Linked DNA regions of Homo sapiens: regions 1 and 2 are each linked to region 3. The links are contacts of gene promoters, found by promoter capture Hi-C in human tissues and cell types (Jung and others, 2019). All regions are on one chromosome and are shown on one strand. Each heading gives the region's core, a stretch centred on a gene start or on the middle of the fragment in contact. The rest is flanking DNA. Distances are from core to core; before and after follow the strand shown.

Region 1 (4,382 bases), core at 309-2,808, 870 kb after region 3:
GTTGGGTGTAGTTTGCTTCTCTTACCCTACCTAGTTTTTTTTTGTTTTTTTTGTGTTTTTTTTGTCCTTTCACATTTCTGAATTTGTTAGATCTGCTAGTATGGGAACGAAGAAGAGGTAAGAAAAGAAGGAAAGTCTGTAATTGCCATTTGTATCTTGGTGATATAGCATTGATGTTCTCTGTACTTGGCTGTATGTTTAAAGCTGACTATTATCTTATGGATGCTTTTGTGGGTTGAGAGAATCAGCCACCCACATTCACTTAATGCTATGGATGATTTATCTGCAGTTCTCTTGTTGAGGGTATATTAATCATCTTCTTTTTTACATGGTAGTACCTCCAGCTTCCTGATGAGGATTATTCATCCTTTCTAGAAAGAAACTAAGATAACCCTTCAGGTTATCAGGTTATAAAGTTCCCTTTTCCCAGTTTCTTGAGACATTTTTGGATTTTCTCAAATGCCTTTTCTGTATCTGTTCATACGGATCATATGGTTTTTCTTTATTCTGTTGAGATGGTGAATAATAAAATTCAATATTATTTATTTAATATTCTGTTGAGATGGTGAGTAATAAACAGTAAAGATTTTTTTTATTTGTAGTGAAATATAAATATAAGTTTACTGTTATAGCCTTTTTATTTATTTATTTATTTTGAGACGGAGTTTCACTCTCGTTGCCCAGGCTGGAGTGCAATGGCACGATCTTGGCTCACTGCAACCTCTGCCTCCCAGATTCAAGCAATTCTCCTGCCTCAGCCTCCCAAGTAGCTGGGATTACAGGCATGCATCACCACGCCTGGCTAATTTTGTATTTTTAATAGAGATGGGGTTTCTCCATGTTGGTCGGGCTATTCTCGAAATCCCAACTTCAGGTGCTCTGCCCTCCTCAGCCTCCCAAAGTGTTGGGATTGCAGGCATGAGCCACTGTTCCTGGCCAGCCATTTTTAAATGTACAGTTAAGTATCCTTAAGTACATTTACAGTGTTGTGCAACCACTACCACCTCCATCTTCAGAACTTTTCATCATCCTGTGTGGAACCCATTAAATAATAACCACCCAATTTCCTTTTCTCTCCAGCCCATGATAATCGCTGTTTTATTTTTTGCCTCTGTGTATTTCACTGTTCTGGGGACCTGATATAAGTGGAATTATATAATATTTGTCCTTTGGTGTCTAACTTTTCTCACTTAGCCTAATGTTTTCAAGGTTCATTCATGTTGTAGCATGTGTCAGAATTTCATTCCTTTTTAAGGATGAATAATATTCCATTGTATGACTGTGCCACATTTTGTTTATCCATTCGTCAGAGGACATTGGGTTGTTTCTACCTTTCGGCTGTTGTAAATAATACTGTTATGAACATTGGTGTGCAAATATCTGTTCAAGTACCTGATTTCACTTCTTTTGGATATATATCCACAGGTGGAATTGCTGGATCATATGGTAATTCTATGTTTAAGTTTTTGAGTCACCTCCATACTGTTTTTCACAGTAGCTGTACCATTTTACCTTCCCACTGGTAATGCCCAGAAGTTCCAGTTTCTCCACATCCATGCCAACATTTGATAATAGTCATCCTAATGAGTCTGTCTCATTATAGTTTTGATTTTCATTTCCCTAATGTTTTGTGCTATCAAGCATTTTTTTCATGTGCTTCCTGGTTATTTGTATATCTTCTTCAGAGAAATGACTGCTTAAGTCCCTTCCCTCTTTTTACATTGGGTTGTCTTTTTGTTGTTAAGCTGTAAGACTTCTTTATATGTCCTGCTGCAATTGCTCAACTTTGCCATTGTAGTATTAAAGCTCCCATAGACAATGTGTATATGACGGAGTGTCACTTAGTTTCAATAAAATTTTATTTACAAAAATAGGTGGCGGTCCACATTTAGCCTGCAAGCTGTAGCTTACCAAGCCCTGCTTTAGAGCAGAAGTTCTTAAACTTTTTAGTCTCAGTACTGCTTTAAACTTTTATTGAGGACTTCAGAAATCTTTATATATGTATCTCATTATTTACTATTTTAGAAATTATAGATTAGGGACTTTAAATTATTTAGTTATTCACTAAAAATAAACAATAATTAACCTATTATGTGTTAACAACATAAATAACAATTTTATGAAAAATAACTGTCTCTTCCCAAATGAACAACAACAAAAATAGTGAGAAGAGTGTCATTGTTTACATTTTTTGTGAACCTTTTTGGTTCACAAAAAATAGCTGGAGTCTCATTTCTGCTTGTTCATTAAATCTTTTACAATATCCCATGTCAGCCTGTGGAAAACTCTACTACATACTCATAAGAGAATGATTCTGAAAAAGGCAAATTACATCTTAGTAATATTAAGAAAATAGTTCTGACCTTGCTGATCCTCTGAAAGAGTCTTGAGGTCCTCTGTAGGTCCCCAGACCACTCTTTAAGATCATTTCTCTTGGGCAAGATTAGCCTCATTACTAAGGCTTGACTCATCTGGGATCTCAAACGAATGTCTTAGGTATTTGAAGAGGACTTACCACTTCGGTTATTGGGAGCTTTAATGATTCCCAGTCCTCTGTGCCCACTGGAAATTGTTTGGCTTACTGCTTTCCAGTAATTGTTCTTTCCCCAGTGCTTGTTCTTTGCCTATCCTTGTGAAGTTTTGCTGTATGCATGTTCATATTGTGTTCAGGCATAGAATGAAGGGGACCCCACGCATATTTCTGGAGTTTTTTCTTTGTGTAGCTTATTCCTTATCAATTCAGTAGACTACTAGATTCTCTTTGGCATCTCCCTCTTCACATTGCAGTCCCAAAATTGCCTGCAGCCAGAAAACTCAGTTGTTTGTAGGGCTCACCTCATTTATTTTCTTTCTCTCAGGACCTAGAGGCCTGTGCTGCCTGTTGCTCAGCATCTCTGGATGCTTCAGATATGTTCTCCAGTATTCTAGTTGTCTGTAGTGGGAAGGCAAGTCATGTAGCAGTTAACCTTCATGAGCAGATGTCTCGGACTTTCTTGTTTTATTTTATTTTAAGACCGTATCTGCTGAAAATTATGCATTAAGGTCTCATATATCCTTTCAAAACATGGTCTTTGTTGTTGTAGTCTTCCGCGAAAACTTTCATCTTAGCATCTAGTTAACATTGATACAGAGGACATTTTTCACTTCTTATTTTGAGATGGAGTTTCGCTCTGTCACCAGGCTGGAGTACAGTAGCGCAATCTTGGCTCACAGCAACCTCCACCTCCTGGGTTCAAGCGATTCTCCTGCCTCAGCCTCCCAAGTAGCTGGTACTACAGGCACATGCCACCATACCCAGCTACATTTTGTATTTTTAGTGGAGACGGGATTTCACCATGTTGGCCAGGATGGTCTCGATCTCTTGGCCTTGTGATCTGCCTGCCTCAGCCTCCCAAAGTGCTGGGATTACAGGCGTGTGCCACTGCACCCGGCCCCCATTTTTCACTTTTATACCAGGAACATATATGGAAGAATATAGTTATTTATAAATATTTGCTTCTGATTTAAACAACTATGTGGACTGTGTTTATTTTGTCTCAACCTCCTGGTAATATATCTAGCACGTTAAGAAGAACGATTTTAAAAACATGTTTTATAACTATTTTGTTTTTTACATTTAGCTTTAAATGTAAAGCTATCGTCTATCACATATATTTAGTTTTAAGTTTTGTACCTTAGGGTTTATTAGTTACTCTTATATAATGTAGTCACATAGACCTGGATTAAATTCTGGCTCTGTGCTTTACTAGATGTGTAAACAAGGACCACTTGCTTAACCTGATGTGAACCTCAGTTTCTGCATCTGTAATACAGACACAGTAATGCTGTATTAATTAGAAATCAGAACATATAGTAGCAGAGCTTTTGATAATGGTGTTTTCTACAAGGTGGAAATTTATTTCTTCTACCTCTTCGTGTAAGAGGAGCCTGGCAGTCCAGGAGTGGTATGGCAGCCTCACAGTGTGTTTGTGGACCCAGTTTCCTTCTCTTTACATTCCTTCATTCTTAGCTTGTAGATTTTATCCTCAAGGTTGTCTTATGGTCCAAGATGCCTACTGGAATTCCACCTATCATGTCCATATCCCAGGCAGCAGGAAGGAGTAGATGAGAAAGGTAAAAGGGGCATGTTTTTCTTTTAAAGAAACTTTCTTTAGTACACACCATCATTTTGTTTAAATCTTACTGGCCATAACTTAGTCATATGGCTCTACCTAACTTTAAGGGAAGTTGGATCTTTTAGCCAGATGTTATGAAGAAAGAGGGGATAAAGGGATTTTAGGTTAGGCAACTAGGAATATGTCACTAATGTCTTCAATCAGAATTTCATGGGTTCCAAACCCAATGAGAAATTATTCAGCAGATGCTCGTATCTGTGGTAGCAG
Region 2 (4,434 bases), core at 501-3,000, 710 kb after region 3:
TACATCCTGAAAATACACTGCACAGTCTGCCTCTTTTGCCTTAGTAAAAGGGTCAATTGGAAAGCATTAAAAACTTGGATTTTCTCCAACACAAAGATGTATTGTCTTGAGTCATCCTGCAAGATCGCTTGCTGCACGACTAAATAAAAGACCTTGCTGAAGCAAAATGTCCTGGAAATGGTTATTCTGATTTGTAATTTGAAGGAAAATTTAAAAAGTAAAACAATGCTTCTGTCAAATCTTCTCATCCATTCCAGAATCACTAAAATCTATTCCAATATTTTGAAGCAGATCATGAAGGAATCGCTATTTCTCTTCATCGTGAAAGTATTGACATCTGTTGGCAGAGCCAGGTCCAGTTCCCATGTTATCTGCACAAGAACAGCATCAAATGAGGATTTCTATTTTGGGAGCACTTTTAGAAAGTTCAAAGGCCTCCTATGGTGTTGAAATTGTAAAAACTTTATTGGCCAAACAAAATTTCCACTCAAAGAAACATTGATACTATGCATGCTTGGAGAACTAGCAATGAGATTCATTCCATTCTAGATTGTCTTGCATTAGTGTCAAAGGTAAATCCCAAATAAAATTTTGCTTGCAACCACAAAGTCATCAACCTATTTAGCTTCAGAGCCTTGCATTTCTGTCTTTTCAAGAAGTTTTCTTAGAAAAGCAGATTATGAAGTTTTCTTTTGCTATATGGAAATTCATCAGCTGTCTGGAAGTTAAGTCTAATAGAACTTAATTGAACTTGGGGTAAGTAACTCTTTGATAACTTCTACTTAGTCTTAAGATTGCAGATTAAACAATGTTTTCTTATTGGTTAAGTCTCCATTATTTTTTCTCACAGAACAATATACCTTTTCTCCACAGCAACTTTACATGTGTGTTTATGACTATTTGATTAATATCTGTCTTCCCCATTAGACTGAAGGCTCAATGAGGCCAGGCACTGATTCTATTTTAGCTGATCATTGTATCTCTGGCACACAGCACAATGCTGAGCACATAGTGGGTGCTCAGTAAATACTTAGAAATATATGAATGAATGAACAGAAGAACGAACAGCAAGGAAGAGATTTTTTCATAGTCTTCCAGATATATGTGGCCATTTGAACAACTAAAAAATGCAGATGCCCCTATTATAAGGTTTTATCTGAATTAAGCTAATTCCTATAATAATCCTATCAAATAGGTACTGTTTTACTCACTGATGAAGAAACAGGCAAGTCACTTGCTTAAATTACCATGGTTAGCAAGGGGGTGGAGCAAAGCTTTTAACCTTGGTAGTCTAAATTTGGAGCCCATACTCCTAACTACAGGTCTCATACTCACCATTATGGAGTTGTTGGAAAACCGCACTTTGGAGGAAGTACCTCTCTGTATGTGAATATTCGAGGTAAGCAACTGTAGAAACTTTCCAGATCTGGGGGAAATTCTTCTGGCAGCTAGAGTCTGTAGTGGCCATCTCTCTGCGGGAAGAAACTGCAGCACTTGGAAACACTGCAAAACTCTGCTCAAAATACCATGTAGACAGTGCCAGTAACAAAGATGTTCTCAATGATCTGGGGAAAAAAAAAAAGGCACAAATAGAATCTAACTCATAAACTGTTTGAGAATTCTGGTATTTTTTGATACAATCCTTACTTGAAAAAGCAAGCAAGCAATGGGAATTTTGATTCCATCTGCAATTACTCACCCTTGGAAGTCAGAGATTTCATAACTTTCTATCATTAGTGTTAGAGTTGACATCTGTGGAATGTCAAAGTTGAAAAAGTTGGCATGTTAACCTGCCAGTGACCGCTCCAAAAGTTGTTCTTATTGAAGTTAAAAAAAAAAAAAAAATCCATGTACTTTTGGAATGTCCTTGTTAACAGAAATTTCCTATTGAATTTCTTTTTTTTAAATTTTAAATACACAATTTGGATTTATTTTTTAAGTTGTTACATATTGGCCACTTTTTTTTCTGAGAATATAAGTGAAAAAATCAAATTCATTATTTACTAAAATATTATCTGTCTCTGAGGAGGCAAAATATTGTACATAAATTTGTGTGAGTACTTACATGCACATCTTAAAATCTGTGACCCCAAAGGAATTAAGAACCACCAATCTCTCTCTCTTTGTTTTTTGTTTGTTTGTTTGTTTTTGTTTTTTTGAGACAGAGTCTTGGTCTGTCACCCAGGATGGAGGGCAGTGGTGCCATCTCAGCTCACTGCAACCTCCACCTCCCGGATTCAAGCGATTCTCCAGTCTCAGCCTCCCAAGTAGCTGGGACCACCATGCCTGGCTAATTTTTTGGCATTTTGAATAGAGACGGGGTTTCACCATGTTGCCCAGGCTGGTCTTGAACTCCTGGCCTCAAGTGATCTGCCTGCTTTGGCCTCCCAAAGTGCTGGAATTACAGGCATAAGCCATTGCACCAGGCCTTCTTTTTTTTTTTTATGTATAACAAATAGAATTTATTTCTCACAGTTCTGGATGCTGGGAAGTCCAAGGTCAAGGTGCCAGGAGGTTCTGTGTCTGGTGAAGTCAGCTCTCTGCTTCATAGGTGGTGCTCTGTTGTTGCATACTCACATGGTGGGAGGAAGACAGGCAAGAGGGCCTGACTAGTTCTCTCCACCCCCAAGGTCACTAATGAGAGCTCCACCCTCATGACCTAATCAGCTTCTACAGGCCCTCTATACCTAATTCCATTGCACTGGGTATTTAAGTTTCAACATGAATTTTGAGGGGGACATAAGCTTTCAAACCATAGCGCCTCCCTAATGAATAAGTTTCTTGTATGTATTTTATTTTTTCTTCCAGTGCAAGTATTTCTGTTTCTATGAGCTCTCTAAATAGTGATTCAGGGACTCAGATTTCATCCATCTTTGACCTTTTCATCTTCAACATATGATTCCTAACATCATAATAGTAAAGTTTGCCTTCATTCCAGCCAATTTAAAGAGGAAAAGAGCATGGATGATCAAACATGCAGTTTTTCATGAGCCAAGCTTGAAAGAGGGATAAACCCTTTATACTCACCTCCCATTGGTCAATTCAGTCTCAATGTGTCACCTACATACAAGGGGATGGGAAATGTGGCTCCTGGATGAGTGTTTACTTCCTAGAATAATCTGACATTAGGAAAGTATAGAAAGAAAATTTTGAGAACCACTAGTCTCTAGATTGAAACCATGTATTATGACTTTCTAGATCAGAAGTGAGTAGTTTAAGGCATTAATGTATAAGGAGAACAGGGTATTGTTGGAAGTCTGTACATGGATATTCTCTGTATGCTTCTCCAGACCCACTATCTATTCTTTCTGGCTCTTCTTTGAACCTCTGGTGACTGAGCTGTGCAGAATGCATCATGGATCCCCTGTCTTCTGGCTTCCAGTTGGTTCCAGAAGTCAACAGGCAGGAGCAGAGGCCTGGCTAGCTTCCTGCAGGTCTACAGTATGGCAATAGTTGTGTGCCCCCACTAAGACCCTACTTTTGTCTGGCACATTCAGCCTTTGCCAGCTTCCAATTGCCAATCCCTCATATTGCCCCCTTAGCCCTTAGATTTATTTGACTCATGGTTCTGCAGACTGGGAAGTCCAAAAGCATGGTGCTCTAGCATCTGCCAAGGGTCACCCCACAGTGGAAGGCAGAATGACAAGGAAGCATACAAGGCAGAGAGAAAATCAAGCCAAACTCATCTGTTTATCAGGAGACCACTCCCAAGATAATGGCATTAATCTTTCACCTCTTAGAGGCCCCACTTCTGAATACTGTTACAAAGGCAATTAAGTTTCCAACACATGAAATTTTGGGGGACACATTAAAACCATAACATAGGCATATGTCAAAATGCATCTAAATGGGGGTTCCATTCCAAGATGGTCGAATAGGAACACCTCCGGTCTGCAGCTCCCAACACGATTGATGCAGAAGACAGGTGATTTCTACATTTCCAACTGTGCTCTGAAGAGAGCAGTGGTTCTCCCAGCATGGCCTTTGAGGTCTGAGAACAGACAGACTGTCCCCAAGTGGGTCCCTGAACCCCATGTAGCCTAACTGGGAGACACTTTACAGTAGGAGCCAATGGGCACCTCATACAGACAGGTGACCTTCTGGGACGAAGCTTCCAGAGGAAAGATCAGGCAGCAATATTTGCTGTTCTGCAATATTTGCCGTTCTGCAGCCTCTGCTGGTGACACCCAGGCAAACAGAGTCTGGAGTGGACCTCCAGCAAACTCCAGCAGACCTGCAGCTGAGGGACCTGACTTGTAGAAGGAAAACTAACAAACAGAAAGGAATAGCATCAACATCAACAAAAAGGACATCCACACCAAAACCCCATCTGTAGGTCACCAACATCAAAGACCAAAGGTAGATAAAACCACAAAGATGGGGAGAAACCAGAGCAGAAAAGCTGAAAATTCTAAAAACCAGAGCCTCTTCTCC
Region 3 (4,058 bases), core at 876-3,375:
CAATAGTCAAAATTATGGCAAATTGAATTTGACCTGAGTGGAAAGATAGTTATATTTCAAATTATAATGCAGGGCAACCTAACTACCAGTTTTTTAAAACCAACATTTGAGGAAGAACTGGTTTAAGGATGATGCTCCTTTTTTTTTTTTTTTTTTTTTTTTGAGATGGAGTCTCGCTCTGTCGCCAGGCTGGAGTGCAGTGGCCCGATCTCGGCTCACTGCAACCTCCGCCTCCCAGGTTCAAGCGATTCTCCTGCCTCAGTCTCCCAAGTAGCTGGGACTACAGGAGTGTGCCACTACATCCAGCTAATTTTTGTATTTTTAGTAGAGACGGGATTTCACCATGTTGGCCAGGATGGTCTCGATCTCTTGACCTCGTGATCTGCCCACTTCCGCCTCCCAAAGTGCTGGGATTACAGGGTGCTCCATTTTAAACTTGACTGCTCTCTGTTTTGGTTTTAGATTGAATTCATGCAGGTGTTTCAAACCTCGCTTTCAATAGCATTACTTGTTACTGGGAAGCTAGATCTTTTGGGGGGAGTTGGCAGGGAGGGGTTGAACGTGAGATTTCTCTATCAGTGAAAGACATCTTTTGGGAGATACAGCACTCTTTAAGCTTCACTTATAAAAGTGTGCAATATAAAGCCTTATTATTATTTTTAATAAGGCAAGTCAGAATTTAACCCCCATGGCTCTCTTTAACACCACTGAAGTTGTAAGAATTAACTCAACCTCAAAGAGGCATGAGTTATCCATGTAGGCTTATAGAGTGTCATTTTAATGTTCTATGTCTTTACTGTGCCTCCACTTTCTTTGATGAAAAGGTCTATTTAAAAATTGGTAGGAAAATATTTAACATAATAAGATGATGAGTCAGAGTTTTAAAAAAGCTAAAAAGGGAAGATGTAGTTAAATAATGCACCTTTTTATTTTCTAGCTACATGACTCATGACATATAATGTATTCTGCTAAGTTCAAAGTTTCCTCTTACAAAGAGAGTTTTATGAAACAACTCTTCTTCAGACCATTTTTATTTCAATTATAGTAGCAGGTTTTGGAGTTTAAATCATTAACAACCTCTGAGTGAACTTTTATCCAAATGACTGCAAGTCACAAAGAGAACAGTCCTCTTTCACCAAGTACCTTTTGTGCTCTAGTGAGACCCGTCCTTTTCTATTTTTCTCCTTTATGTCTCTCTTTGAAGAAAGATGTGTGATTTGTAAGGTAATGAAAGTATGTATCAGTTAATGAAAACTGCTATATTGGGCTCATAATGCACACTGGAATTGCTTCAGGGTAAACTTCATATACCTGCAGTATATAGCAGGGGAAAAAGTGAATTTCCGAAGTAAAGATTGCTGTGTGCACTCTAGGAGTATCACGTAGCAGTTAAAGCAACCATCAGGGGTGACCTAATCTTATTTTCCTCTCTTTGTCAAGTAGCTGTAATGTTCATTTAGGAGCATTTTTCAGTTTTAACTCCAGTGGACACTCCAAAACTGGGCACTTATTCTGTCAACTGTCAACCAAGTTATTGATTTCACCATATGTTGTCTTCATTTTTTTTAAATTAGTTTTTTTGGAATGTTTTTGAAGAGTGTGTGGGAGACGATAACCTCCAGATTTAAGGTGATGGGGTAGGGACAAAAGCCTGCAGAATTTCATACAGAACAAAATGTAGCTTAATAAACAAAAGAAAGTGAAGAGAGAAATTTATTTCCTTTTTAAAAGTCAGTAAAATAATGAACTAATCGTTGTTTAAAGAGTGAGAAAAACTTTTTCCCCCTAGATTTGGTGACTAGCGGGATAAATTTGAAGAACTCCATCCCACCCCCGCACGCGCGCCCCCCATTCTTTCCAGACAGAGCGGTTGTAAATCCGAGGCTGAGTCCGCCCTGGGAGCCTTGGGGCACTTTCCTCTTTGCTCTGTGTGTGTGTGTGCGTGCGTGTGTGTGTGTGTAGCTCTCGCTCTTTCCCTCAGTCTGTGCCTCTTGTGTGTGTGTGTGTGTGACAGAGAGAGAGCGAGAGAGAGAGCGCGAGAGGAGAGAGAGCGAGAAAGAGAGAGAGAGAGAGCAAGAGAGCGAGCTGTGAGCTGTGCTGCCGCCGCCGCTGCCCTTTGATCCCGACATTAGTGTTAGGGGCTCGGAGACACAGAGCGCGGCCATAGACACCGCCGCACCGGCACTCATTTATTTATACCTCCCATCACACACGCGAGCATAGGACACACACACACTCACACCTATTAGATCCGTTTCCATTGAAGAATATTACGCTCGGGGACAAGCCAGGTGCACGACCAAAAATTTAAAAAAAAAAAAAAAAGGAAAAAAGAAAGGAAAGAAAAGAAGAAAACCCCTCTTCTGGCTCCAGGAAACAAGCTTCAACCCATTGCACACACCGGAGAAGGGGTTTCCCCCTGCCCGCCCGCCCGCCCCCCAACTACCTCCCCGCTCCTGCCAGTGTCTGCCTCTCTGCCCCCACGGGGGTTTATTTGATCTCACATTAACCAAGGAGGAGAATGTGAGAAAAGGGGGAAAATGCCCAGGAGGAAGCAGGAGCAGCCCAAGCGCCTTCCCTCACGTAAGTCATCCCTTCTCCACCTCCTCTCGTGCCATTTTCTCGCCCTCCCTCTCCTCTTTCCCCTCCGCAGCCTCCTCCGTTGTTTTCTGCATTAGTTTAGGGTTACAGAGGTGAAACTGACAAAGACACAGCCCGGGTTACTCCTCGTTTAGGTCTATGCTGAGGCAGCCATGTTGGTGATGATCAGCCCCGTGCCCTTTCTATTCTCTCTCTCTTTTTCTTTCTTTCTCTCACCCCCCCCCTTTTTTTCCTTGAGATCGGGCTTTTTTTTCCCTTTCCCTCCCCTTCCCCCTCCTCACTCTGGGTTGCTGGGGGGAGGGGGCAAGAGAAGGGAGGAGGGGAGTAGTGTGGATGCCGGGGGTTTTATCGGGGGTTTGGTGGGGGGAGGTGGGAGAGGTTGGAATCTTAAAAAAAAAAAAATTCCTTGTGGATTCCGGCGCCTGAGGGTGCGGGGGTCGGGGCGCGCGGAGGGCTGGGGGCCGTGACATGGCGTTTGGGGGTGTCGGGGAGAGGGCGCGCAGCAGCCGCCGGGTACAGGATCCAGGGAGAGGTCCGTCCCTGGCTAAAGGTTGCGCCGGGGTTGGTCGGCCCCCGAGCCGCCGGCGGCAGCGGCGGCGGCGGCTGGAGCAGGAGGAGGCGGAGGTGGAGGAGGCGGCGGCGGAGGAGGGGAGTCGGGGGCGGGCGAGGCGGGAGCGGCTGGGGAGGGTGTAGGGGCACCGCACACAAACACACGGGTACACACGCGCCGCCGGGCGGCTGCTCCCGCGGCGCCGAGGCGAGGGGGCGCGCCGGGGCGCGGGGCGGCCGGGCGGGGGGCGAGGCCGGGCAGCGGCGGGCGGATGTGGGGTGCGGGAGCTGCGCCGAGGCGAAGGCAGGAGGCAGGGCGGCTCGCGGCGCGCGAGGTCCCTGCAGAGCGGAGGAGAGGGAGGAGCAGGGCTCCTGGCCGCAATAAAATGCGGGGTCAGTCGGAGCAGACGGAGCCGGGCGAGACTCGGGCTCTCAGACCCCCTCCTTGGCGAGCCTGAGCAGAGTCCAGGACTAAAGTGCATCACAGCCCTCCCCGGCGGCAGCCACACACGCCAACTGGAGACACACACCCGCCGGCACGGCCCGGTCCCCTTCCCCTCCTCCACCCGCGCCCCCGGTCCCTCTCCGCCCTCCCTCCGGCTTTTCTTTGCGCGACTCTTAACTTTTCCCCCACTCCCTCTCCAGCTCCCCCCAACCCCCCAGTCTTTCTCCGCTTTGAGTGTTTCGAGATGCTGCTAAAGCTAAAAGTGAAGGAGAAAGAAGCAACTAAAAATATCCCCCGGGGCCGCCCGGCTCCTTGAATGCAGGGAAGAGGGGGCAGGGGAGAAGGCGTGGGGCGGGGTGACGGGGAGGAGGGGACGCGGGAGGCGCCGGAGGGAGGGGTCGGGGGAGACGGAGGGTCAATTTCTCTTCTCTCCCCCCACACTACTCCCCTCTCCCGGCGGTTT

The links. Contacts are between HindIII fragments. The study calls those that stand out against the background at their distance.
Region 1: a contact is called between a fragment that was not itself captured here and the fragment with the promoter of ZNF827 in region 3, in 1 of the 25 tissues and cell types used here (dorsolateral prefrontal cortex).
Region 2: a contact is called between a fragment that was not itself captured here and the fragment with the promoter of ZNF827 in region 3, in 1 of the 25 tissues and cell types used here (dorsolateral prefrontal cortex).

What each region holds. Positions count from the first base shown.
Region 1 is chr4:145,067,681-145,072,062 of GRCh38, reverse strand. The region is part of intron 3 of ANAPC10 (anaphase promoting complex subunit 10); the gene reads left to right. Among named protein-coding and RNA genes, the nearest start is that of ANAPC10, 28 kb to the left of the region's middle. The HindIII fragment of the contact is 9,287 bases long and covers 1-4,382 here.
Region 2 is chr4:145,228,145-145,232,578 of GRCh38, reverse strand. No RefSeq gene overlaps it. Among named protein-coding and RNA genes, the nearest start is that of OTUD4, 50 kb to the right of the region's middle. The HindIII fragment of the contact is 6,443 bases long and covers 1-4,434 here.
Region 3 is chr4:145,936,890-145,940,947 of GRCh38, reverse strand. It overlaps ZNF827 (zinc finger protein 827), which reads left to right and starts at 2,125. Exons shown (of 15, transcript NM_001306215.2): 1 at 2,125-2,583. The coding sequence starts at 2,541. RefSeq lists an enhancer at 2,749-2,808 and silencers at 3,183-3,252, 3,373-3,782, 3,883-4,058. The HindIII fragment of the contact is 3,959 bases long and covers 1-3,890 here.